7 separate regions of the Homo sapiens genome follow, and all the other regions are linked to region 6. The links are contacts of gene promoters, found by promoter capture Hi-C in blood cells and fetal thymus (Javierre and others, 2016). All regions are on one chromosome and are shown on one strand. The core of a region is centred on a gene start or on the middle of the fragment in contact, and the rest is flanking DNA. Distances in the headings are between cores, read along the strand shown. Region 1 holds the start of RPS26 (ribosomal protein S26). Region 2 holds the start of BLOC1S1 (biogenesis of lysosomal organelles complex 1 subunit 1). Region 3 holds the start of NABP2 (nucleic acid binding protein 2). Region 4 holds the start of STAT2 (signal transducer and activator of transcription 2). Region 5 holds the start of PA2G4 (proliferation-associated 2G4). Region 6 holds the start of R3HDM2 (R3H domain containing 2). Region 7 holds the start of SARNP (SAP domain containing ribonucleoprotein).

Region 1 (3,503 bases), core at 1-2,500, 1.4 Mb before region 6:
TATTTTTAGTAGAGGTGGGGTGTCACTATGTTGACTAGGCTGGTCTTGAACTCCTGACCTCAGGTGATCCGCCTGCCTTGGCCTCCCAAAGTGTTGGGATTACAGGCGTGAGCCACTGCACCCAGCCTAAGGCTTAAGTCTTTCCGATGGCTCTTCAGAGGTAAATGGAGCTTACACATAATCTTTCAATTAGGGGTCAGATTCACTAATGAGTGGTGAAATAATTTTCGTGGTTTTTGATCAGCATTTATTAAAATAGAGAACAGAAAGATTAAGTAAAAATAAAGAATAGAACATACCAGCACACCTATGACAAGGGTAAGTATCGTTTCATAAAGCTTGTGTTTCAGTTTTGCATGTGCATGTAATCGTGTTTGTGTGTGTACTGGGTACCAATGTAAAATGTATTCGTGCTATGAATCTGGGTGAAAAACGTTTAAGTCATTAGTCCAGGCTATTCCTCCATCCATTTGTTAGGTGACATACAGCATAGTACAGCGGAGCCAGAATACCTACTGCACGTCAGTTCTTCAATCTTTTTTTTTAATTGATTTATTTATTTTTGAGACAGAGTTTCGATCTTTTTACCCAGGCTAGAGTGCAGTGGCGCGATCTCGGCTCACTGGAAACTCCGCCTCCCAGGTTCAAGATTCTCCTGTCTTAGCCTCCTGAGTACCTGGGATTACAGGCGCCCACCACCAGGCCGGGCTAAATTCTTCAATCTTTAAAGTGAGGATAATAATAGTAGCTACCTATAGGCTTGCTCAAAGTTAAATGAGTTAATATTTATAAAGACGCTTACCACAGGGCCAGGCACTGTGCCAGAGATAAAAAGATGAATGAGAAATAGCCCCAGCCTCAATGCACTTCATTGTGGGATTTTCTCCATATTGGAAGGAGGGATTCACAAAATGCTTGTTTCCTCTCAGGCCTTCCTCTTCGTAATCCTACACCTACCTAGTAGAAGGACTGTCAGAGAAATGAGCCCAGGGCGTCCCCCGGTGGCGCAGCGCCGCCTTCGGTCTAAGCACTTGGGGCAGGGGGGAAGGGGGGGAGGGGGGAGCCTCTTGGCTTCGCACTACAATTCCCACCAAGCATCTGTCCCTCTCTGGCCTCTAATAACGAGTGCGCCTTGTGGTCCAGCGTCTGGCAACTTTCACGCCTAGCGTCGCGTATACCGGAAAACTGCATCGTCCAGAATTGCTTCCGAGTCGGCGCGGCGCAAGGCTTGCTGGGAGACACATAACCTCGATTTTCTTCCGCCATCCGGCTAAATAGTCCCATGTGCACTTTGTTCCATGGATAAATAAACACTAGGAACGCATTTCCACCCTAGATTTCAGCAGAAATGCTGAATGTAAAGGAATATTTGAGTAAAGTGAGTTGCCGTTCTTGAAGCCCGTCTCCTAAGGATTCTCCCGGTGTCCGCGTAGGGATCTCATGCTATATAGGAGGGCCCTGCCAGGCACCGTCTCCTCTCTCCGGTCCGTGCCTCCAAGATGGTGAGTCTTCTTGCGTGGTGAGGGTGGGGGTTCGGGTGCAGACTCTGGGATTGTGGGGAAGTGAGAGCCTGGAGCACGGCTGAGGGGTGGACCGAGTGTACATTTCATTTGCTCTGGGGGTCGGCGGGATTTGCGGAGAAACAGGAGATCCGAGCGGCGCCTTCCTGGAGGCTGCCGGTGCGGCTTGTGGCCGGAAAGGGACTGAGGCTGGGTGAGTTGCGCCGTTTTCCTAACAGTTTTCCCATCCTGTCGCAGACAAAGAAAAGAAGGAACAATGGTCGTGCCAAAAAGGGCCGCGGCCACGTGCAGCCTATTCGCTGCACTAACTGTGCCCGATGCGTGCCCAAGGACAAGGCCATTAAGAAATTCGTCATTCGAAACATAGTGGAGGCCGCAGCAGTCAGGGACATTTCTGAAGCGAGCGTCTTCGATGGTAAGTGGGTCACCGGCGCGAACTGTGTGAGGATCCCAGTATCTTAAAGCCTTCGCCCAACTTCGCCCTTTTGGAGGCTCTGTTCTTTGGAGCCTCTCAGGCAATTTCCACGTATTTAAGGTTGTTACTGGTAGAAGAGAATTCTCTTGTTTGCCGTTTTGATTCTTTTCTGGGCAGAGGGTGACTTTGTGATAGAGTGCACAGCCTTTACTCTGAGGTAAAGGTTTGCCTGTTTCGGTTATGAGATTGCAAAAACTAGAAACTTGGTAAATTTGACAATTCTTGTGCTATTGATTATTTGAATATTTGTGAAAATATACAGGTGAGGAAGAATGTCTTCAACGTTTCGAGAATGGAGGCCGTCTAGTTTGGTGTGCAAGGATGATGTTTGGAGCAATAAGAACGTCGCTTTGTTTTTTTCCTTTTATAGAAAGAGCAAGGTTCAGGGTAGGCATTAGGGCGGGTGTAGGTGTAGAAGGAACTGGATTATTGGTTTATTGCATTTAGAATGTCAGTCTGGTCCTTGCGGTGTCAAGATGAACTCACGTGGGATGTTAATTCACTTGTAAAACTGAGGGTTATACATATGTGCTCAGGTATTGGGCTGAACAGGTGCTTTGGGGGTGCTTTTATGTGCCCGACAGGCATTTAAATAGGTTTAGTTTTAATTGACGTAAACATGTAAGGTGCTCTTCATTCATGTAACAAAAAAGCAAGGTAGGTATATAATACCAGTATAACTCTATTTTCTATTCCTTAGCCTATGTGCTTCCCAAGCTGTATGTGAAGCTACATTACTGTGTGAGTTGTGCAATTCACAGCAAAGTAGTCAGGAATCGATCTCGTGAAGCCCGCAAGGACCGAACACCCCCACCCCGATTTAGACCTGCGGTGAGTATTTTAAAAGGAGAATGGAAGCCAGGGGAGTGATGGTTAAAATTTCATCCTGGAGGGTCAGGGTGTCCTATACCTGTAACCTCAACACTTTGGGAGGCTGGGACAAGAAGATTGCTAGAAACCAGCAGTTCAAGACCCCATCTCTTCAAAAAATATTGAGAAGGAAGCCAAGCATGATAGTGTGAACCTATAGTCTGGCTGCTCGAGAGGCTGAGGCAGGAGGATCACTTGAGCCCAGGAGTTTGAGGTTGCAGTGAGCTATGATTATACCACTTGCGCTCCAGCCAGGGCAAAAGTGAGACCTTGTCTCTTAAAAAAAAAAAAAAGTTGCTTCCTCCTGTGGTGCAGGGGGTATCAAATTAAGGTCTGTGCCTCAGGTTAAGCTGTAAGGCAGGTGAGACCCACACCTGAACATGCTTAGAGACACTGCAAAGCAGTGTTAGAATCAGAATTGGTTTTTAGGATGCAGAGTAGTGTTCTCCCTCCACCTCTATCAGCTTCCCATGCATTTGTAGCCTGAATACATCAGTTTGTGAGAGGATGGTGGTCAAGTTCTTTGGGGGAAGGGAGTCTTGGATCCATGGGTTTTAATTTACTCTTTTGTTTCTTTGTCTTTCAGGGTGCTGCCCCACGTCCCCCACCAAAGCCCATGTAAGGAGCTGAGTTCTTAA
Region 2 (2,588 bases), core at 1-2,500, 1.7 Mb before region 6:
ACATATATATAGTGATGTTTGGTCTTCACTCCTTAGATTCTATTTAATTAGTCTGGAATCAAGGCTTTTTTTTTTTTTTTTTTGAGACAGAGTCCCACTCTGTCGCCCAGGCTGGAGTTCAGTGGCGTGATCTCGGCTCACTGCAACCTCTGCCTCCCAGGTTCAAGCGATTCTCCTGCCTCAGGCTCCTGAGTAGCTGGGATTACAGGCTTGTGCCACTACGCCTGGCTAAATTTTGTATTTTTAGTAGATACAAGGTTTCACCATGTTGGTCAGCCTGGTCTCGAACTCCTGACCTCGTGATCCGCCCGCCTCGGCCTCCCAAAGTGCTGGGATTACGGGCGTGAGCCACCGCACCCGGCTAATCACGGCATTTTTATAAGCCTTGTGATTTCTGTGATTCTAATGTTTAGATTCTAATGCTTAGCCAGGGTTGAGAACCACCGATTTAATCCAATCCCTTCTCCTAGTTTTACTAAAGAGAAAACTATAACCTAGAATGGTGAGCAACTTGCCCAAAGTCACCCAACATGTTAGTGCAAGGTGCACCGAGAGAGATTGTACCAGTAGCAAGAATATGCTCATGATGTTTATAATTGTTCTCGCTGGAGTTAATCCCGGAAGCATTTCTTTTTAGTTCACAGAGGCCTTATATAAATTACTTTTTACTTTGGCACAGCACTTACGCTTCTGCTAACACTGAAATGGGTTCGCATTCCTGACCACAAAAGGACAGAGATGAAATTCTACATTCACACAGCCCGCCAAGTTAGCCAAGCTCCCTAGGAGGCTGTCTGAAGTGCCTAAAATGCTTCTCTACAATGATCACCCAGAGCTGAGAGACTTCAGTGGGGTAGTGAGAAGAAAGAGGGTTGGGAGAGACAGGAAAGCATCCTCTCCTTGAGGGAAGGAACTGGGAATCAACTGAGAACCAGCTAGCACTGCCAGGAGGTGAGGAGAGGGAAGGAGAATAATTTAAATGAGGCCAGGGAGCTTCTGCTCCCTCAATTAAACGGTGATAGACGGCCTGACACCACCAGCCCTCGAAGCCTGAGATCCACAGGAAATGTTAAAAACTGGCTTGGCAATATAAGTATTAGAAAATACTTCTTCCAACACTCACCAAAAACTAAGCTCCCAATAAAGAACACTTCACCTGCCCTCCGCAACCCTCTACCTCTCTTCCCCGCCAAGATCTTCACCCAAGGTCTCAAGAGGGCGGTTCCCAACCTCACGTGACACAGCGGTCACGTGACATGGCCCCGGGGAGCCGAGGTGAGCGTTCCAGCTTCCGGAGCCGGAGGGGGCCCGGCGTACCCAGCCCCCAGCCCGACGTGACCATGCTGTCCCGCCTCCTAAAAGAACACCAGGCCAAGCAGAATGAACGCAAGGAGCTGCAGGGTGAGCCAAATATCCTGTCGGCCGTTTTCTCTTCGGCCGCGGCCTAGCTTCAGCCCGGAGCCTGGATCTCGAGTAACTAACCATATCCAGGGAAAGACGCCAGCTAGCGGGCAACGGGCATGGGGGAGAGGGAATTTCAGAGAGGCTTTTTTTGAAACTCCTTTCCCTTGCCAACTGGCTCCGGTCCCTTGGGCAATACTCCGGTCCCCTCGGCAACGCCCCCAATCCCCGACCTGCCGCACCTTAGCCCCGCCCCTGCCCCGGAGCGCCCTGCCTATTGGCCCTGGGAGCCTCTCGTCCTGGCGGCGGGAAGGAGCGACTCTGGAGGGAGGAGGGTGTGGGGAACCCCCCAGAGATGGGCTTCTTGGAGGCCTGAAACCACCGGAACGGAGGTGGGGCACTTGTTTCCTGAGTCCGGGCTGGAAATCTCGGAGTTACCGATTCTGCGGCCGAGTAGTGGAGAAAGAGTGCCTGGGAGTCAGGAGTCCTGGGCGCTGCCGCTGACTTCCTGGCGTCCCTGAGTGAGTCCATTTCCCTCCCAGGGTACCAGTTTCCTCATCTCTAAAATGAAAGAGGTTGCGCTATGTTTTGCAAGGTCCTTTTCAGCTCCGGCATTCAGAGATTAGTTAAGAAATTTCGGCAACTAGCAGAATAGTAATGGATGGGTAGGGAACCTTTAACACTACCCCTCAAAAAACCAAGTCTCCCCTCCAATTCCTTTTCCCCCTCTCCCCAGAAAAGAGGAGGCGAGAGGCTATCACTGCAGCGACCTGCCTGACAGAAGCTTTGGTGGATCACCTCAATGTGGGGTATGGACCTCTTATCAACATCAGTTTCCTCCTTCCCCACCCCGCCCAAGTTTAGGCACTGGCCAGTCTGGCCCTCAAATAGCTGTTGAAGGGGTGGGATGTTCCACTAATTCCCCTATCCTACCCCGCCCCTCCCAGCTCTTTGTAGAGCAACTTGAGTCAACTCTGAGTCCTAGCACTGGGCAAGGGAGGAACAGCTGCCGTGGTTAGAGAAGCAGCCAGATTTCCCCTTCCCCACGTTAACTTCCCTGGCATTTACAACTTGATGCCATCTGCCCACCTCCCTTCACCCTTCCAAGTCCAGCTGTCACTTCAGCAGGAGGGAGAGCACCCTCCTTCATTACAGCTTACCACCCTCTCCTCTGCCTCCCACCCTCT
Region 3 (3,883 bases), core at 1,005-3,504, 1.2 Mb before region 6:
TCTATATGGTCCCAGCCAGGACTATGTAGCCATTTAGGAGGGAGAACTCTATGTTCTTCCCGGCAAAAACGTGTGGGCCTGGCCGGCCACGCTTCGCTTTGGAGGGGTGCAGGTGACTTGTGTCTTAGAGCTGACGCAGATTGTTGCGAGATCATTGCGGAGAGGCAGGCCTGCAGCGTGACCTGCTGCGGGTCCGGCCCCTCTCCCTTTTCCAGAGCCCTGGTCAGCATCCCAGAGCTTCGTAACCCCTTGACTCCTGTCATGGGAATGGATATTGCAGTTAACAAGGCGGCCGCGGGGTGGGGAGTGAGGGAGTCTGACCGCAAAGCTTAGATCTGGGGTGCTCAACGGGTTGTCTGCCTCTCTCCCAGGCGCTCTCCTGCCGTATCCACGATGGCTCCCCGAACACTTGTGGAGTTCCCTGAAACACCTAAGAGGAAGGAAGGGAGAAAAAATTTCCCTCTTCCTGAGTTGGGGTTTGATTTCCTTAGCTTACAACACCGTGGTGTTGGGGATGTGGGCGGTAGAGAACGTGGGATCCAAGGGAAGTCAATGTGGAGCCTAAAGAGCTCCGTGAGCAGATAAGGGATTAATTAAGCAAACCAAGGCATTACAATCACATGACTTCCTAGACTAATCTGGTATTAAATAGTATGGTATTTATTGTGGACATTGGCTAAGCAAATGCTAATGCACATTAATACACACATACACACATATCTTTATGTAATTTGTTTATACACAACAATACAGAGCTAGCTACCTTTTGTGGACAATTTGACAGGTCCCAAAAGGAACTAAAGTTTCAGGCCTCCTTTCTGCTGTCTTCTAGCGGGACTCTGAGATAAGTAAGATAAGAGTAGTATGGCCGGGCGCGGTGGTTCATGCCTTTAATCCCAACACTTTGGGAGACCGAGGCTGGTGGATCACGAGGTCAGGAGTTTGAGCCCAGGCTGGCCAACGTGGTGAAACCCCGTCTCTACTAAAAATACAAAAAAAGTAGCCGGGCGTGGTGGCGGGCGCCTGTAATCCCAGCTACTCGGGAGGCTGAGACAGGAGAATCGCTTGAACCCGGGAGGCAGAGGTTGCATTGCAGTGAGCCGAGATCGCGCCACTGCACTCCAACCTGGGCGACAGAGCAAGACTCCTTTGCCGGGGTGGAGCGGTGGGGCGGGGCGGGGAAGAGTAGTATGGCCAGGTGCAGCGGCTCACGCCTGTAATCCTAGCACTTTGGGAGGACGAGGTGGGCGGATCCCTTGAGGTCATGAGTCCGAGACCAGCCTGGGAAACATGGCGAAACTGTCTCTACAAAAAAAATACAGAAATTAGCCGAGGGTGGTAGTGCGAACCTGTAGTACCAGCTACTACGGAGGCTGTGGTGGGAGGTTGCAGTAAGCCAAGATTGCACCACTACACTCCAGCCTGGGTTACACAGCGAGACCCTGTTTCAAAAAAAAAAAAAAAAGGGACTAACAATGTTTCTCTCTTTGTCGCAGGTTCCATTTCTTCCAAGAAGGGTGAGCCTGCCTTTTGTCTCTGGTGTAAATGCCACTTTTCCCAGAGACCTTGACCAAGCTGGGTAGTGCATTAAAGATGAGAACCCCAAATCAGGAACAAAGATAACGGTTAGAGCAATAAAAAGGGAGGAAACCGTGTGTGCCTACTGTGTGCAAGGCACTTTTTTAAATATAACTTCCGTTTTCTCGTAAGATGGAATTACATATTTTTTGTCTTTTTTTCCCTTTTTGTGGAGAATGGGGTCTCGTTATATTGCCCAGGCAGGTCTGGAACTCCTGGACTCATGCTATCCTCCAGCCTATGCCTCCCTACGTGCTGGGATTACAGGCGTGAGCCACCGCGCCTTGCGGAATTGGAATTACATATGTTTAAATAGTCGAGAAATGAAGTGAAGCATTGAGCCAGGATTCAAACTTTTGTCCGCCAGATTCCGAAGCCCTTGCTCCTTTTCCCATTGTGTCACTCTTTGGAAAGAAACGTCTTAGAACCTAAGTGCATTCTCCCTAGCCAAGTTAAGGAAAACTGGGGGCCCTGTGCGCCTTCTAGTGGTGGATTTTTCCCCCTACAGAGCCAACTATCTCCAAGGTTCCTTTAATACCTGAAATTCGCCCCCTTCGCGGCGCACGAGTCTCTGATCCCGATTGGCTGGGCAGGGCAGGCGGCGGGACGCAGGGCGCGCCCGGGCGGTGCTGATTGGCCGGAGGAGGCCAGCCGGGGGAAACTTCCGGGAATGTCCGCACTCCCGCGTTCCACGGGGCAGCATCCGGCGGCAGCGGAGCCTGTGGCTCCCCCTGCGGGCTGCTCAGCGGCGTGCACAGTCCTGCCGGCTGGCTTGGGTGGGTGGTGGGCTGCGGGTAGGGGAGGGGATGGACCGAGTCCCGGCTTGTCGGGATGAGGGTTCCGGAAGATCTGGCCAGTAAGATTCTACTCCCTGGCTGTGCACCGGGTTCCCTACCCCTGTCTACGTCGGCTCCGCCACTTCGCGGCTTGAGACTAAAAGAGCATCCCGGCAGGGGGCCTTCCAGCCCCAAAGCAGCCTGTCCAGAGACCCCCAAATTCTGATCCTGAAGTTGGAGGCCTCCGGGGATGTTCTTTTTTAATCTTTTAGAAGGGTTAGAGGGGTTGAGGCTGCCTGACCCCAGCCTAATGGGGTAGGTAGGCCTTGGGAAGTGGAGCATGGGGGCAAAGGATCCAAGCATTGAGCCTTCATCCTCTATTCCCCATCCAGTGGGGTGCCGAGGCTCAGGCAGCATGACGACGGAGACCTTTGTGAAGGATATCAAGCCTGGGCTCAAGAATCTGAACCTTATCTTCATTGTGCTGGAGACAGGTGTCTATACTGGGGTGGCGGGTTCGCGGGATGGGGGTCGGGGGCAGGAGGGGAAGAACGCTGTCTGCGTTCTTAACTTGCTATGGGGATGGCAAGGCAAGCTGCAAGACACTCCTCACTCCCAATCTCTTCGACCCTGGGACAGAAAGTTGCAGTCAGGTATAGGGTAGATAGAACTCTTGCCAGATCTAGACCTCCTGTGCGACGCGGGCCTCTTTCCACTCAGGGCCCTCTCCATGGTGCTGGCCCCTGAACTCCCACCTCCACCCTCCACCACCCCTTCCACAATCCCAACCCTTTATGCCCCAGGGATTTGGGCTTTCCCCTGTTTGTACACCTTTTCCCTCATTCCACCAATATCCACATCTCATCCTTCTGAGAGATACCACTCCATTTATTTGACCATCCTCCCACCTCGATTTATCTGTTCCGTTCAGGCCGAGTGACCAAGACAAAGGACGGGCATGAGGTTCGGACCTGCAAAGTGGCGGACAAAACAGGCAGCATCAATATCTCTGTCTGGGACGATGTTGGCAATCTGATCCAGCCTGGGGACATTATCCGGCTCACCAAAGGGTAAGTCAGCTGGTGACTTCTGGCCTTCCAAAGGCAACAACAATCAAGAGTGGGGTTAACAGTCCCTATAACACTTCTGAGTACTGAATTTTGCTTTTTTTGCCTCCCATAGGTACGCTTCAGTTTTCAAAGGTTGTCTGACACTATATACTGGCCGTGGGGGTGATCTGCAGAAGATTGGAGAGTAAGTGCTGTCTTGGGGATTGGGATGAAGAAGCACCAGGGCAAAGGGGTTTGCAAGGAGGCAGCATAGGGTGTGCAGTCCAAGCCTCATTTCTGGACTTTTTCTGTTTGTTTGTTTGTTTGTTTTGAGAAACAGTCTCTGTCGCTCAGGCTGGAGTACAGTGGCATGATCTGGGCTCACTGTAGCCTTGACCTCCCGGGGTCAGGTGATCCTCCCACATCAGCCTCCCAAGTAGCTGAGACTACAGGCGTGCTTCACCACACCCAGCTAATTTT
Region 4 (3,786 bases), core at 621-3,120, 1.1 Mb before region 6:
TTTTTCTTTTTTTTTTTTTCTTTTTTTGAGATGGAGTCTTGCTCTGTCACCCAGGCTGGAGTGCAGTGACACGATCTCGGCTCACTGCAAACTCTGCCTCCCGAGTTGAAGGGATTCTCCTGCCTCAGCCTCCCGACTAGCTGGGATTACAGGCGCCCACTACCATGCCCAGCTAATTTTTGTATTTTTAGTAGAGATGGGGTTTCACCATATTGTCCAGGCTGGTCTGGAACTTCTGACCTCAGGTGATCTGCCCACCTTGGCCTCCCAAAGTGCTGGGATTACAGGGGTGAACCACCATGCCCGGCCACCTGAAGCTTTTTTAGGAGCCAAATCTTTTTGGTGGTCAGGTAAGTACACCATATAAACTGCCCTCCATATAGGAAGGAGGAGCTCCATTCTAGAAGACATCTAAATGCTGTGCAATGGGTGGCTCAATCCCAAGAATATGACACGTTTATGACCTGTGAATCTTGAATATGATTATAGGTTATCAACTTTGTGAGATCCTGAAACTTCACTTAAAATTGTTGCCTGTAATCCCAGCTACTCAAGAGGCTGAGGCAGGAGAATGGCTTGTACCCAGGAGGCAGGGGTTGCAGTAAGCAGAGATCACATCACTACACTCCAGCCTGGGTGACAAAGCAAGACTCTGTCTCAAAAGAACAACAAATTGGTTTTTGCCTGTCACCAAGCAGGCTGTCCCATGCATCTTTCTCCCCACTGTTCCCTGCTCACTGCCAGCTGGTGTCTATTTAGGAAACTGAAACTTATGCTTGTTGCAGCCTGAGCCTAACAGAACAGAATTCATGCATATTTGTGGTCTAAAAAGGTCACATGATTTTATTACAAAATAAAGAGAAATGCTTGGGGTGGGAGAGTCTTCTACTAACATGAATAACATCAGCTGCCTTTCTACCTCCAGCAGGAACAAGGGAAGGGAGGGATTGGGCAGGGGCTATTTTCATTTTAACTCTTTTAGTAGTGCTTGATTTTTAAAACTATGTATCTGTATTGCTTTTATGATACCAAAAAAAAGTTAAAAAAATGATCAGGTGGCCAGGCATGATGGCTCATGCCTGTAATCCCAGCACTTTGTGAGGCCCACAAGACGAGAGGATGGCTTGAGCCCAGGAGTTTGAGACCAAGCTTGAGCAACATAGTGAGATTCCATCTCCAAAAAAAAATTAATGATGAGGTCCCAATTCTTGAGGATTTAAGTGTCTGATATTAAAGGAGCAAGTCAGCAAAGATTCAAATATGAAAACAAAACAAAAAACCTGGTCTCCCCAAATGGATTGCAAACACTGAGGTTAAGGGCTGAAACAATTTTTTCTCATTATCTCTCATTCTTAGGCACATATTTTGCACTCAAGAAGCTTTTCTGAAATGAACTGAATTTTGTGTGTGACCTTAGGCAATCGTTTCATCTTTCAGTAGCTTATACTTTTTAACAAAACAAGGATAATAGATTTATCTATCTTTGTTTTTAGATTTATCTATCTTTGAACATCGTTTTTTGGTGAAGATAAAAAATAATGCAGAGCAGAGGGAAAAACGTCAGATACCGAACCAACATAACAATGCCAGATTCCGGGTCTCGGAAGCTGCAGGGCAGTTTTGGGAGAGGGGCATTAGGGTTAGGGAGATAGGCTGGACAGAAGAAGATCGAGGACCGAGCAGGCGACAGCTCCTATTTCAATCTGGGGACCGAAGCTACCCTCTCCAGGGGGTAACCCCTGGGGCCAGTCGCCCTTCCCTCGGAGGAACTCTCACTCTCACCCCCACCCCTACCCCAGCACACCCTCTCAGGGCCCGTACCTGATTAGGGTTGCAGTCCCCGCGCCCTCCAATGGCTCTGGTCGCGACTTCCCGTCCCTAGTATGAGCTCGGGTACTAGAACCTCGCGCCCCGCCTACAACTTCGGCTAACCCCCCTCGGACCCGCCCCCTTGTAGTTGGCAGCGGAAGTCCGGAGCGGCCCCCATTCCCAGCCGCCACCCCGACACTGGCTGCCATTCAGTCAAGCCCTTCCCAGACTGCGAGCTCACTGGCGCCGCCGCAACTCCGCCCCTCCGCAGGGCGGGACAAGCTGAGCCGAAACCACACCTGCAGCTTCAGCGATTGGTGGAGAAGTTCAAGTAGGCACTTTCTACGAGGGGAGGAGTCCAATTAGTGGACTAGCCCAAGACTGAAACAGCTGATTTTCGAGAACCCGCGCGTGAGCCCCGGAACCGAAACTAGCTTGAGGAGCCTGGAGACGCCAAGGGCTCCATGGGAAGGGGTGGGACCGGAATTTCGACGCCTTGGGATAGGAAGAGGAGGGCTGAGGTAATGAAAACAATTTTTTTTTATTTTTATTTTTTGAGACATGGTCTCGCTCTGTCACCCAGGCTGGAATGCAGCGGCGCGATCTCGGCTCGCTGCAGCCTCGACCTCCCAGGCTCAGGTGATTCTCCCGCCTCAGCCTCCCAGGTAGTTGGGACTACAAGCGTGCATAACTCCGCCAGGATAATTTTTTGTATTTATTGTAGAGACGGGGTTTCGCCATGTTGCCCAGGCTGATCTTGAACTCCTGACCTCAGGTGATCATCCCGCCTCAGCCTCTCACAGTGCTGGGATTACAGGCGTGAGCCACCGCACCTGGCTAATAGCTATTTATTGAAAGTACTGTGATAAGCATTTTAGATTCATTGTATCATTTTAAATTTACAGGGCAACTCATTGAGGTTAAAATCATTCTATCTCCTTTAGAAACTTCAAAACTGATCTTAGTTCAAGAAAGAAGTTACTATTCAGTGATCACCGAGGCTCTAACAAGTGGAGCCTAGATTCGAAACCAAACCCTGTGACTTCAACACCCAAACATTTACGTTCTTACGTTTTACTGTACAGCCTTCCTCCTGGATAAATCAGATTAAAATTTTGAAGACATGTATATAGCTTGTCAGGGTAGTACAGTTATTAATTCTGTGGTTACCACATTCTTTTATATCTCAAGACTCCCAGCCCCAGGATCTAAGTCATAGCTCTTGATTATGGCCCACCCCCAGTAGGGAGCTGAACTTACTACTTCTGATATGAAAGAAGCCAGAGTAGTTGTTTCTTCCAAGTCACTCACATCTGAGATGGCCCTCAAACCCTCCTTGGTGGTCTCCGGCTGAGAGATGTTTGCGTCTTTCTGATCTTGGTAATACTGGATCAACTGCTGAACCCCAGACCTTAATGCAGGTTTAAGTGCAGCACTGATCGCTAGACCCATAGGCCCCCCTGACATCCCAGCCATGGTCATCAGAAGGTCATATCCCAGATCTATGGCCCCATCTCGGCCTCGTTCCCTGGCCTTGCCCAGGCAGTTTTGAGTAGCATAATACAAAGCTGTGCCCAGGTTGTAGAAGGTTCCCACTCCTGGCAGCAGCTGGACTACATTGTGCACAGCTTGCTCCTTCTCATTCTCACAGTCCTCTGTCGGGAGGGAGCGCCCGACCCTTCCTGTGCTTTGCTGCTCCCTGGCTAACAGCTGCAGAGCAGAGGCCAGGGCTTCCACTGACACGTTCCTCTCTGTGCTTCTGCCTTTCTGGAGCCCTCGAAGATGCTGGATGAGGACCTGTGTAGCATTCACACCACCCTGGCGGTAGAGCTGTAGCTGTAGAGCCCAAACATCAGCCTGACAACCAGCTTCCTCCAGGGCATTCCTTAGAGCCAGGCTTACCAAGAACTTGGGTAGAGGGGCCATGTGGCTGAAACCAGGCAGTGACTTTGGGTGCAGAAATTGGCAGGACAAGGG
Region 5 (3,427 bases), core at 504-3,003, 1.3 Mb before region 6:
TAAAAAAAAAAAAAAAAAAAAAAAAAAAACTTTAGAACTGGGTGCAGTGGCTCATGCCTGTAATCCCAGCCAGCACTTTGGGAGGCTGAGATGGGAAGATCACTTGAGCCCAGAATTAGAGATAAGCCTATGGAAACATAGCAAGACACTGTCTCTACAGGGGAAAAAAAAAAAAGAAACTGAGCCTTAAAGAGATGAAATAAATTAAGCAGTAGATCCAGGATGCAAAATCCTCCCAATTCCTGTGCATGTGCTCTTATTGTAAGGTGCCAAGAAAAACTGATTTAAGTTACAGCCCTTGTTTAAGGGGCACTGTTTCTTGTTTTTGCACTGAATCAAGTCTAACCCCAACAGCCACATCCTCCTATACCTAGACATCTCATCTCAGGAAGTGGTGGTGGGGGTAGTCAGAAGGAAAAATAACTGGACATCTTTGTGTAAACCATAATCCACATGTGCCGTAAATGATCTTCACTCCTTATCCGAGGGCAAATTCACAAGGATCCCCAAGATCCACTTTTAGAAGCCATTCTCATCCAGCAGTGAGAAGCTTCCAGGTAGGACAGAAAAAAGATCCAGCTTCAGCTGCACACCTCTGTCCCCTTGGATGGGGAACTAAGGGAAAACGTCTGTTGTATCACTGAAGTTTTTTGTTTTGTTTTTATACGTGTCTGAATAAAAATGCCAAAGTTTTTTTTCAGCTTCCTGTCTGTCAAATGAAGACATTTCGTATGTTAGATAAGAGATCTGCTCCTCAGCAGTGGATACTCACCTTTCTGTGTTCTGACAGTGCTACTCTGTCCCATGCAGCTTTCTCTAGTCCTACTATTACTTCTATTTCTTTAGAACAACCATAGCGCATAGTCCTTTTCATTAAGGGTTTTAGTAGGAATCTACAAGGCAACCAATTGGGAATAACAAAAAGAACCTACGTGCTTTAGGACTTATAAAAAGCCCTATAAGCCCTCCTTCAGAGGCCAAACACTGAAACCTCCAGATGCTTCTGAATTCATTATCTTAGAAAAGTCATCAAATCTTTTTATTTTTTCACGGTAAGAACTCTCAACAAACATGTCTTTCTGAACACTTCCCTTAGGTGCTCCATCCAGGTGCCTGTTATTGGAACAATAAAGTCATGTTACTTCATTAGGAGTCCGGCCTCTAGATTGCGAGGCCTTTAAATGGATGATCCCTCCGGTGTCTGGCTGCCCAGTTAGCCCCCGTTACCAGCACCCTTGGTCTTCTTCCACCTGTCTGCCCCTCCCTGTTCTCCCAGCTTCGGAGGACGACTGGACCGGCTGGGCGGGTTTCGCCAGCCGACCCAGGGATCCGAAGAAGGGCGCACCCAGCCTCCCCGACCTAGGTGTAGACACTGCCCACCCGCTGCGGCTCCACTCTACTCCACCCCTGCCCGCTCGACTTTAAACCTATTTCCCCGCCGTAGCTCCGCCCCTCTCCCCTCAGCCCGCCCCTCTCTGTTACTGGCTCTCGCTCAGCGTTCTCGGTGGAAGTGGTTTTTCCGGGAGAGACCACGCTTCCCCTCAAGCTCCCCAACGGCTCCGCCTTCCCGCCGGAGCCTGACCCTTCCCAGAGTGCCCGGCGATTCCGGCGTGCGAGGCCCTTGGAGGGCAAGGCCCCAGGGCCTGGCTTAGGAGCGCGAGAGGCAGGCTGGGAATTGTAGTTCGAAGGCCCTCGAGAGCGGCTAGAGTCTGGCGGCCGAGAGGACTAGTTGTCCCAGCGTGCCCTGCGCCTCAGCCCGCGCGCTCGCAGCTTCTCGCTCTCGCCTGCCTGCCCGCTCCCTTGCTTGCTCGCGCTTTCGCTCGCCCTCTCCTCGAGGATCGAGGGGACTCTGACCACAGCCTGTGGCTGGGAAGGGAGACAGAGGCGGCGGCGGCTCAGGGGAAACGAGGCTGCAGTGGTGGTAGTAGGAAGATGTCGGGCGAGGACGAGCAACAGGAGCAAACTATCGCTGAGGACCTGGTCGTGACCAAGTATAAGATGGGGGGCGACATCGCCAACAGTGAGTGCGGCCTCGGGGGTCGGGGAATCAAGGCTGATAGGGAAAGGTAACAGGCTGGCCCGGAAGGGGCTGGAGCGGAGGGGTCATGCGGACTGAGCTACTGAGGGGCCCGCACCGGTCCGCTGGGCACGGCGTGGTGGGAAGACCCGGTGTCGCGCCTGGGACCTGAGCGGGCAGGCCCAGGCTGAAGTCTATGGAGGTGCGGGTCGGCGACCAGGATGAGCGCAGAGAGGGGACCCTGGCAGGCTCCGACCCGAGGCCGTTTGTTAGGAGGCAAGACGTGTTTTCTCTTGTTCCTATCCTTCATTCCCGATTATTGCTTCCTCTGATTCTGGCAGCGGCGAGGCCACCTCGAAAAGGAAGCGCCCAGCTATTGGCGACAGAAGTGCCCCTCTGTTTTTGTAGCGTCTCCGGGGCGTCAGGAGCCAAGCCGGCACGTGTTGCTGGGTCCCATTGCGGATGGCTGGCCCCCTTCTTACTCCGCTAGTGTCCCTGACACCAGCTTCCCCACCACCAGCTTCCCCACCACGTGCTTTGCTGGAGCCTTTCCTTCTTTACTTCAGCTCTTACCCTGGTGGGGGCCCCCTTCTACCTTGGGCCAGCTAAGGAGACCGTTGGAGAGCACTCCTGGAGCTTCTAATGCAAGTCTTGGAGATATATATGGCTTTTCTTGAAGTTACTCATTACTACCACCTTTCCAATCTGTGCAGATAGTCTTAGTTAGCATTCACATTTGTTGTTCTCAGTGACTTGACAACTCAAATGTTTTGGGGTCTCCGTCTTATCCCAACTAGGCAAGCTTGTGAACATTACTGGAAAAGGGAGGACTGATTTTAGGATTTTCACAAGTCATCCTTACTCCAGGTGTGCTCTGACGATCTCAGCAGTTGCCTGTCACTCTAGGCAGATGCCACTTTCTCTTTTCTCTCTTTCCAGTTAGCCTTTCCATTTTATTCCAGTTAGGGAGATACAAACTGCTTGTCATTGTGCTTTTAAATGGTTTTAACAGCAAAGATGGTGGGGAACAGGTATTTAGGATGCCTCCCGTCCTGTGGGTGAAAATCTGAGTTTTACCAGCTTTCAAAGAATCACCAAAACTGAGATACCAAAAGTCAAACCTGTGCTTTATATCACAGTGGACATTTAGTATCGTACCCTGGTTTTTGGTGCCTTTTAGTATTTGAGATACTAGTGGTTTGAATCAGAAAATCTCTTACAGTTTATAACTTTGGCCTCATATTTCTTTTAGATAAGCCATGATCCCCCGAAATGAAACCCAGGGACCTTAGATTAAGTTTCCTTGGCTTATGCACTTGTTTATGAGGAAATAAGTCTATATAGATTGAGATTCCTAACACCTAATTAGAGTGTCTGAGAAAGGAATGCGGTAACATTTAACAGTGCATC
Region 6 (3,519 bases), core at 626-3,125:
CTTGAGGCCAGGAGTTCAAAACCAGCCTGGGCAACATAGCAAGATCCCATCCCTACGAAAAAAAAATTGTGAAGCTCTACTAATCATATAATGGACACAAAGACAAATGGAACTTCAACTCTGAAATTTAACTTGTTAGGAGTTCATCAGGCCTTCAAGAAAAAAGTTATCTTTTCTCTCAACTCTCTGGAGAACAGCAACAGGGTAAGAAAAATACAACTAAAAACTGAACTGAATTAATCTAACCGGCCACTTTTCACCACTATTTAAACTTTTTGTCTTTCCCGGCGCGGTGGCTCAAGCCTACCACTTTGGGAGGCCAAGGCAGGTGGATCACTTGAGCCCAGGAGTTCCAGACCAGCCTGGGCAGCAAGGTGAAACCCGTCTCTACAAAAATCAGCCAGGAGTGGTGGCTCATGCCTGTACTCCCAGCTACTTGGGGGACTGAGGTAGGAGGACGGCTTGAGGCCAGGAGGCAGAGGTTGCATTGAGCCGAAAAGGAACCACTACACTCCATTCTGGGTGACAGACTGAGACCCTGTCTCAAAAAACAAAATACAACCTTTTGTCTTGATACCCCAGCAACAAAAAGGGGGGCGGGGGTGGGGGGGGAATATTGGTGGAACAACAACAAAAAAAAGCATTAGGAAGAAGAGCCACAAATAATTCAACTGCAAATCTATCTAAAAATACAAGAAAATGCTAGGAATTTGTGATATTCCTGAAGTGAAACCTGTCACTTTCCTCCTTCCTTGAGTCTCCACGTGGCTTACGCATATCAGACAGGACTCAGGCTTCTCAATCTTAGTTATCTATTTGAACAACATTATGTACAAGGATATTCATCCAACTGGGATCTGAATTCAAACTTTTCCACTTTTCTTTCTTCCGTTTTAACGCAGTTCTGGGATTGTTATTCGGTCATTTCTCATCATTATCCAATGACAATTCACTCTAAGTCAGTATTCCTGGTAGTTCCGAGACTTAATGGCCACAAATGTTGAAAAATGTTAGCTCTACGGGAAAACGAATCGAAGCGTTTTCAGGGGCTCGAGTAGTTATGAGCTTAGTGTAGGCCCAAGTTTTAAGCTATAGAAACATCTCCCTGTATGTGCCAACTCAAATCCCCGTCCCTGTAAGAAACCTGGACACCAGCATGATTTTAAACACTTCTACACCTCTCCGTCCTATTTTTCCATGCTCCACGCTCGAAGGAAAACCGCCACCCAAGAAACACACGGAGCTAGCCACCCCGAAGCACTGGAAGGGCGCAATAGTTTTTAGGTCACCCCGCAAAGGCCACAGGTGGCGCCACCCCCCTGCCCCCGCACCGCCGCCCTCCGCCCCGCGCCCCCAGCTTCTCTCCAGCAGCGCACACTTGGAGCAGTCCTTCCCGCGGCCATCCGACCCTGACCCATCGTCCCCGGGACCGGCTGCCGGGCGCGAGGAACCCAGGCCGCGGGGCCTCCTCGCGCCCGCCCGTGCGGCCGCCACGCCCCCTCCCCACAGGCCGTCCGGGCCGCCCGCCCCCTCGGCCGGGAGGTGGCCTCACCTCGCACGGGCCTTGGCGGGGAGGGCGCCCACGTCTCCGCCCGCCGCCCGGGCCCACGGCCGCTCGGCTGCGGCTCGGCCCCGACGGCCGGCGGCGGCGCGCTTCTGGGGGCGGGCTTTTCTCGGCCGGGGCTTCCCCGGGGCCGAGGGCTGGGAAGCAGGGGGGACTGGGACGGGGGAGGGGAAAGGGGCTTGGGAAGGAGGGGGGAGAGGGGAAGAAAAGGGGGGAACCAAACCCGGAAAGGGAGAAAAGGGGGGAGGGGAAAATCAGAAGGGGAAGAAAAGCCCAGAGTCCGCCCCCCGCTGCGGCTGCGCGCTACGTCACTACGTCCGGCGTTGTCGTCACCTCGTCCTGCGTTCCGGCCGTCCCTGCTTCCTGGCTTCCCGCGTGCCCCTCAGCAGCCCTGCGGGGCCTACCGCCTGCCGCACGCACTCCCGCCGGCGCGCGCGCACTCGCACTCGCTCGCTCGCCCTCTCCTCCTTCCGCGTTACCTGTGTCAGGACACCAATCCGGAGTCACTGGGAGCCTCGGTCCTCCTTAAACCCTTCAAGTCTGTCAGATAGAATACCCTGGATTTCAATATAATACTAATAGTGATCATTCTAAAGTAATTTCCATTTACAGAGCACTTTCACTTAGGGCAGTAACTCCTGTACCAAAAGAACGTACACTCGGTATTTGTTGCATACGTGGATAACTATAGTTGAGCAGGTAAATGTCCATTTTACGTAAAGATGAAAAAAACCGACCTAGGAGGAACTCAGTCTGTCCTATTAAGATCACATTCTTACCATCATCCCCTCTCTAAGATACAGTTCTCAAAAATCGTCTTAAATGTCCAGCCTCCCCCGTTTTGTCCATTCTAGGCAGAATCAATTTAGTTATTGATTATGTGTGTGTGGATAATTTACTGACCAAACTCCCTCAAAGAAGCAATGTAGTCTTTTGTAGAATTCGACCATTAAATATTTACCTTGTGACAGAAACTGCGGTAGGCAAAAAAAGTCAAATAATTATAGTACAATTTAAGTGCTATAATAGAAAGGTTTAAATGTGCTATGGAAACACAAGGAACAGCAATTCGTTCTTAGCGGTAAAAGAGATTGAGTAAGTTACAGAGAAACTACAGGTGAAACTCCAGCTAATCTTGAGACTATAAATAGTTCACTAGAGAGGTAAGAATGGAGATTCCAGCAAAGTCATAGAGGCATGAAGTTCATCTTTCCTTCAAGGATGAGCAAGTTCCAGGTTGGTTGGCGTTTTTTGTTTGTTTGTTTGTTTGTTTTATTTATTTTGAGATGGGGTCTCGCTTTGTCACCCAGGCAACTAGATTGCAGTGGTGCAATGTCGGTTCACTACAACCTTCACCTCTCAGGTTCAAGTGATTCTCCTGCCTCAGCGTCCGGAGTAGCTGGGACTACAGGCACGCACCATCACACCCGGCTATTTTTTGTATTTTTAGTAGAGACGGGGTTTTGCCATGTTGGCCAGGCTAATCTCGAACTCCTGGCCTCAGGTGATCCACCCGCCTCGGCCTTCCAAAGTTCTGGGATTACAGGTGTGAGCCACCTTGCCCAGCCCTCTCTCCTGGTCATCACTGCCTCCTGCCCCCAAATTCTCTCAACCCTCTAGAGAACAACAACGGGGGAAGAAAAATACAACTGAACTGAACTGATCTAACCTGCCACTTTTCACCACGATTTAAACTTTTTGTCTTGGCCGGGCGCAGTGGCTCACACCTAGCACTTTGGGAGGCCAAGGCAGGTGGATCATTTGAGCTCAGGAGTTCCAGACCAGGCAGTGATGACCAGTAGGAAATAATAGCTAATATTTGTATTATGTGTATGTAAGTACAATATAAAATGTGTAGCATTCTACATCTATTGTTAGTATCAAATCCTCAATACAATAGGTACTATTATTATACCTGTTTTATAGATGAGGAAACCTGAGGCACAATAATGAAA
Region 7 (3,788 bases), core at 507-3,006, 1.6 Mb before region 6:
TGATTAAAGAGCAAGTCCTTTTTAGGCTGTCAGGAGTGCCTAATGTTCTCTTAGACTGTAACACTGAAATCAGGTCAGAGGACTTTACGTAAAAGTTACTTATCCAATCAAATACAAATTTTATATAGACCTGACAAATACAGATTTGATGGAAGGAGGAACTCCATAAACCAACACAATCTATAAATGCAAGTAAGTCATCGGGCAGCTGGTGACTTACTCCAGGGATTTCAAAAATAGGACAAATAGGAAGAAAATATTAGCTCTTCTATATATAGTTCCTTTTTATCTCATTCAAAAATTCCTTTTCTGTGTTATATTTTATAACAGTCCAGAAGTATACAATTTCTATAAGTACAGTATATATAAACAAAGTGGAGATGATTGCTCAATTTTTTTTAACTCATCACAATAAAGATCAAGAGACCGCTGATATAGTCTATGCATTTCAGTATCATCAAGTTAACAATAACTCCAGAATAACACAAAAACCCACTAACAGAGTTTAGAATCCAAGAGTAAGAAAAACATCAGTTTCACAGAAAGACTAATTGGGGTCAACTAATAAGTGACTAAAGAAGGGTCCTCTCCCTACCCTTACTACCCTTAAGCTTTCTTAACAGCAACAAAAACAAAAAAAAACTTTTCGAGCTTTAAAGGATCACTTTTCAGTTTCAGCTATATCAGCCTGGTTTGTCCAAAACATCTAATGGGAAAACTACTTGTGAAACCACAAACAGACAATTACTCAAGATATCTTAATTTACCCTAAAAGAAAATACTTTTTAAAATGTTCTTCTTTTTAATATATTTTTTTAACTTTTTTATATATCTAAGTGTGAAAAAACTACCAAGAGTCTCATAAGACAATTTAAAATAGCTTCTGTGATTCAGTGTCAGCCAATGGTAACACCAGGAGATGCAGGGCCCACCCGAGATATGAAATGGAACAGAGATAATCTTAACCTTGGAATTGTTTTTCCCAAATATTGCAGGTGTGAGTTCTCTCTGGTGGTTGGAGATGGTGTGTGAGGAAGGCTGGCGGGCCGAGAGCCGCGTGACAGAACTCGAAAACTTTTAAATCTGAGGTGTCTGTACTTCTACTATTCTCAAGACCTCCTCAACCCCAGGCTTCTAAGGCGAGACCGATCTTCTGAGAGGCCTCTCCCTGTTTCAAAATTCGGCTTGGGGCGTAATCCCACCTAGAAAAGGGGAGTGGAAGTATTTTCTGAGTGTCTGGTACCTATTTAGACAGAAATACACAAAAATGCCACCATTTGCTAACAGGGAAATCTCAGCTTCGGACGACAGACTGGAAACATCATCCCAGGGAAGAAAAACGGATCCTGGCTCCGACATGGGGCAAAAAGGAGGGACCAACTGACGTAATGCAGCCCTGAAAAGCAACGAAGAGTATAACAGGTAGAAGGCACTTACACAACCCAGTGGGGAAGGGTGACGGACGATACAATGATGAAGGAAGCAGAAATAACAAATAAATATAGCAGTAAAGCCGTGAGGAGAAATGGGAAATTAGGGAAGGCGTAGTGTGGAAGGGTGGCACAAAAGAGCTACGGCGGGAGCCGAGAAACGAAGTGGAAAAGGCTGCACGGAGAAGACGTAGGAGAAGGCGCAAGCTACCCTGTAGAATTCAGTTCCTAGAAAAGTCCAACTCAGCCCTTCCCCGATTCACGGTACCTTTAGCTTATGGAGCTCCACCGTCTCGGTCGCCATCTTGTTACCCCTCACTCCACTAGGCCCCCACCCGCGGCCTCCGCCTCCAGGAGCTCCCGCCTTAGGCGTAGAGATGCAAGGCTGACCAATCGTTGTCACTCTTGCTCCCACGCCATACCATCAGCTCTTCCCATTGGTCAATAGCTGACGTCGCTCTCACTTCTCTAGGCAGCTTGCCCCACCTCTTTCAAAAGGTGGAACTGGGAGAGGGGCGGGCACTGTATCTTGCGAACGACAGAAATGGCAACCAACTGTGCTTCTGCATTACAGACCACCAACCAATGGGTGGTGGCAGCGCTGATTCTGTTCCTCCAATAGGAAAGGGGCAGAAGGAGAGGCGTTACTTCCTGGAGACTTCAGGTGTGGTAGCCGGCGCCGCGCCCATAGCCGGACGGGGATCTGAGCTGGCAGGTAGGAGCTGCAAAGACTGTAAGGGTTGCTGAGGAAAAATGGTGGGAGGCGAAAGGGGCGCCGAGGGAGTGGTGACCTAAATACTGAGAGGGGAGCGCTGAAGGGAGCCCTGAAAAAACCGATGAACATGAGGAGGAAGCTGGGAGGGGCATGGGGCGGGCTTAAGGAACTGGCGGTGGGGCTGGGGCGGGCAAGAGCCGCTTCCTAACCAGACATCATCAGCTTTAGAGCTACCACAATTTTAAAGATCCGAGTTCAGATAATCACTGCTGCCCCTGGAGTCAGAGCCAAGGCTCCACCTTTCGAGGTATTGAGCTCAGGTCCCTTCCTAACCCAGTCCAGAAGCCGTGGGCAAGTTGTTGTCGTGCCCCACGCTTGAGAGAAGTAATGGGGATGCAGACTGTTTACATGCCACGGAGGTGAGAGAGAGGGTGGACAAGCCCCAGAGAACAAAGTGGGGACCAGAGTGAGCTTTACTCTGTCATCCCTTCTTAGTGGTTCTTTGATGATTCCATGACTTTCGCCTGGAATTCTGGGTGTACGTGACCTCTTCATGGTTATTAACTTCTTCAGCAAAGTCAGATACTCCTATTTCCCTTGCTCCCTGAAGTGAGTGCCCCAAGCCTACACATACACCTTCATGTTACAGTTGACGTGTAAAGATCAGAGCAATAATGACTATGTCTCTGAAATGTAGTGAGGACTCTTCTTGTCTTTTAAAGTTTTCCCCAAGTCTTCAGTTTTTATTTTCTGCGTGATGGGTAAGTTCTTCATTCCCAATAGAGTTCAGGGGATTGGGGCTATCTGAGAGACAACTGGGAGATAGCTCAAGAGGGGTTGAGAAAAAACTGAGCTGGACTCCTGCCTGATCCCCCATTACGGCTAGGATGAATGTGGGGGTGGCACACAGCGAAGTAAACCCCAACACCCGAGTGATGAATAGCCGAGGCATCTGGCTGGCCTACATCATCTTGGTAGGATTGCTGCATATGGTTCTACTCAGCATCCCCTTCTTCAGCATTCCTGTTGTCTGGACCCTGACCAACGTCATCCATAACCTGGTGAGCACTAAACCACGCCCTTGTACCCACCCCAGGGTTTCCCAACCAAAAGCAAAATAAAATCACCAATTGTTTGGGGATTTATGTGTTCCTTTTGGGATCTTAACATAATTCTTTGACTGAAAAACTACTTTCTGCCCCTCACACTGCCACCTTCCCTGTTCCCAGGCTACGTATGTCTTCCTTCATACGGTGAAAGGGACACCCTTTGAGACTCCTGACCAAGGAAAGGCTCGGCTACTGACACACTGGGAGCAAATGGACTATGGGCTCCAGTTTACCTCTTCCCGCAAGTTCCTCAGCATCTCTCCTATTGTGCTGTGAGTCTATGGGGGAAATGAGATATGCTGGGTTAGAAAGAGCTCCAAGAGCCAGGTAGAAAGGCCCATAGGGAAGCTGTTAAAAAGCAGACTTCTCATCTAAAACCCTTTGAAGATATTATGGTATACTAGTTCTAAGCCTACAGAGAGCAGTAAAATGTAGATTACAGTCAATACTGTAATCAAGCATTCCTTGCTGCCTCCTTGGTAGTAAGGAAATGAAGGGACTGAGAAAAGATAAGTGCCAAATAAAACCAAATGA

The links. Contacts are between HindIII fragments. The CHiCAGO score rates a contact against its expected background, and 5 or more counts as called.
Region 1: a contact is called between the fragment with the promoter of RPS26 here and the fragment with the promoter of R3HDM2 in region 6, in 2 of 17 cell types (fetal thymus and monocytes). The highest score is 7.2, in fetal thymus.
Region 2: the fragment with the promoter of BLOC1S1 here is called in contact with the fragment with the promoter of R3HDM2 in region 6 in 1 of 17 cell types (fetal thymus); the score reaches 5.7 in fetal thymus.
Region 3: the fragment with the promoter of NABP2 here is called in contact with the fragment with the promoter of R3HDM2 in region 6 in 1 of 17 cell types (monocytes); the score reaches 6.4 in monocytes.
Region 4: a contact is called between the fragment with the promoter of STAT2 here and the fragment with the promoter of R3HDM2 in region 6, in 3 of 17 cell types (non-activated CD4 T cells, monocytes and naive CD8 T cells). The highest score is 8.9, in non-activated CD4 T cells.
Region 5: a contact is called between the fragment with the promoter of PA2G4 here and the fragment with the promoter of R3HDM2 in region 6, in 1 of 17 cell types (monocytes). The highest score is 7.5, in monocytes.
Region 7: the fragment with the promoter of SARNP here is called in contact with the fragment with the promoter of R3HDM2 in region 6 in 5 of 17 cell types (naive CD4 T cells, total B cells, non-activated CD4 T cells and 2 more); the score reaches 8.5 in naive CD4 T cells.

Annotation. Positions count from the first base shown.
Region 1 is chr12:56,040,668-56,044,170 of GRCh38, forward strand. RPS26 (ribosomal protein S26) reads left to right here and starts at 1,251. Exons shown (of 4, transcript NM_001029.5): 1 at 1,251-1,502; 2 at 1,758-1,935; 3 at 2,696-2,826; 4 at 3,452-3,503. The coding sequence starts at 1,500. The coding sequence ends at 3,487. RefSeq lists enhancers at 972-1,761, 1,210-1,539, 1,680-1,939 and a silencer at 1,000-1,059. The HindIII fragment of the contact is 3,314 bases long and covers 337-3,503 here.
Region 2 is chr12:55,714,796-55,717,383 of GRCh38, forward strand. It overlaps BLOC1S1 (biogenesis of lysosomal organelles complex 1 subunit 1), which reads left to right and starts at 1,251. Exons shown (of 4, transcript NM_001487.4): 1 at 1,251-1,401; 2 at 2,138-2,210. The coding sequence starts at 1,257. BLOC1S1-RDH5 (BLOC1S1-RDH5 readthrough) reads left to right here and starts at 1,239. Exons shown (of 6, transcript NR_037658.1): 1 at 1,239-1,401; 2 at 2,138-2,210. It also overlaps a transcript of ITGA7 not described here. RefSeq lists enhancers at 1,296-1,435, 1,716-1,955. The HindIII fragment of the contact is 4,864 bases long and covers 1-2,183 here.
Region 3 is chr12:56,222,088-56,225,970 of GRCh38, forward strand. It overlaps NABP2 (nucleic acid binding protein 2), which reads left to right and starts at 2,255. Exons shown (of 7, transcript NM_024068.4): 1 at 2,255-2,354; 2 at 2,747-2,848; 3 at 3,286-3,424; 4 at 3,537-3,608. The coding sequence starts at 2,770. RefSeq lists enhancers at 1-727, 27-246, 728-1,661, 1,078-1,372 and a silencer at 2,104-2,343. The HindIII fragment of the contact is 18,635 bases long and covers 327-3,883 here.
Region 4 is chr12:56,358,237-56,362,022 of GRCh38, forward strand. It overlaps STAT2 (signal transducer and activator of transcription 2), which reads right to left and starts at 1,871. Exons shown (of 24, transcript NM_005419.4): 1 at 1,822-1,871. APOF (apolipoprotein F) reads right to left here. Exons shown (of 2, transcript NM_001638.4): 2 at 2,332-3,786. The coding sequence ends at 2,989. RefSeq lists enhancers at 738-937, 769-938, 2,014-2,193, 2,264-2,353. The HindIII fragment of the contact is 2,677 bases long and covers 1,378-3,786 here.
Region 5 is chr12:56,102,806-56,106,232 of GRCh38, forward strand. PA2G4 (proliferation-associated 2G4) reads left to right here and starts at 1,754. Exons shown (of 13, transcript NM_006191.3): 1 at 1,754-2,020. The coding sequence starts at 1,933. ERBB3 (erb-b2 receptor tyrosine kinase 3) reads left to right here. Exons shown (of 28, transcript NM_001982.4): 28 at 1-700. It overlaps LOC105369782 (a long non-coding RNA gene), which reads right to left and starts at 1,614. Exons shown (of 2, transcript XR_944995.4): 1 at 1,483-1,614; 2 at 1,009-1,113. RefSeq lists enhancers at 1,449-1,798, 1,809-2,028. The HindIII fragment of the contact is 2,269 bases long and covers 549-2,817 here.
Region 6 is chr12:57,429,168-57,432,686 of GRCh38, forward strand. It overlaps R3HDM2 (R3H domain containing 2), which reads right to left and starts at 1,876. Exons shown (of 24, transcript NM_001394031.1): 1 at 1,553-1,876. It overlaps R3HDM2-DT (R3HDM2 divergent transcript), which reads left to right and starts at 1,949. Exons shown (of 2, transcript NR_185976.1): 1 at 1,949-2,263. RefSeq lists an enhancer at 1,018-1,127 and a silencer at 1,308-1,777. The HindIII fragment of the contact is 10,065 bases long and covers 1-3,519 here.
Region 7 is chr12:55,815,968-55,819,755 of GRCh38, forward strand. SARNP (SAP domain containing ribonucleoprotein) reads right to left here and starts at 1,757. Exons shown (of 11, transcript NM_033082.4): 1 at 1,699-1,757. The coding sequence starts at 1,734. ORMDL2 (ORMDL sphingolipid biosynthesis regulator 2) reads left to right here and starts at 2,074. Exons shown (of 4, transcript NM_014182.5): 1 at 2,074-2,145; 2 at 3,032-3,206; 3 at 3,375-3,526. The coding sequence starts at 3,033. The HindIII fragment of the contact is 4,326 bases long and covers 610-3,788 here.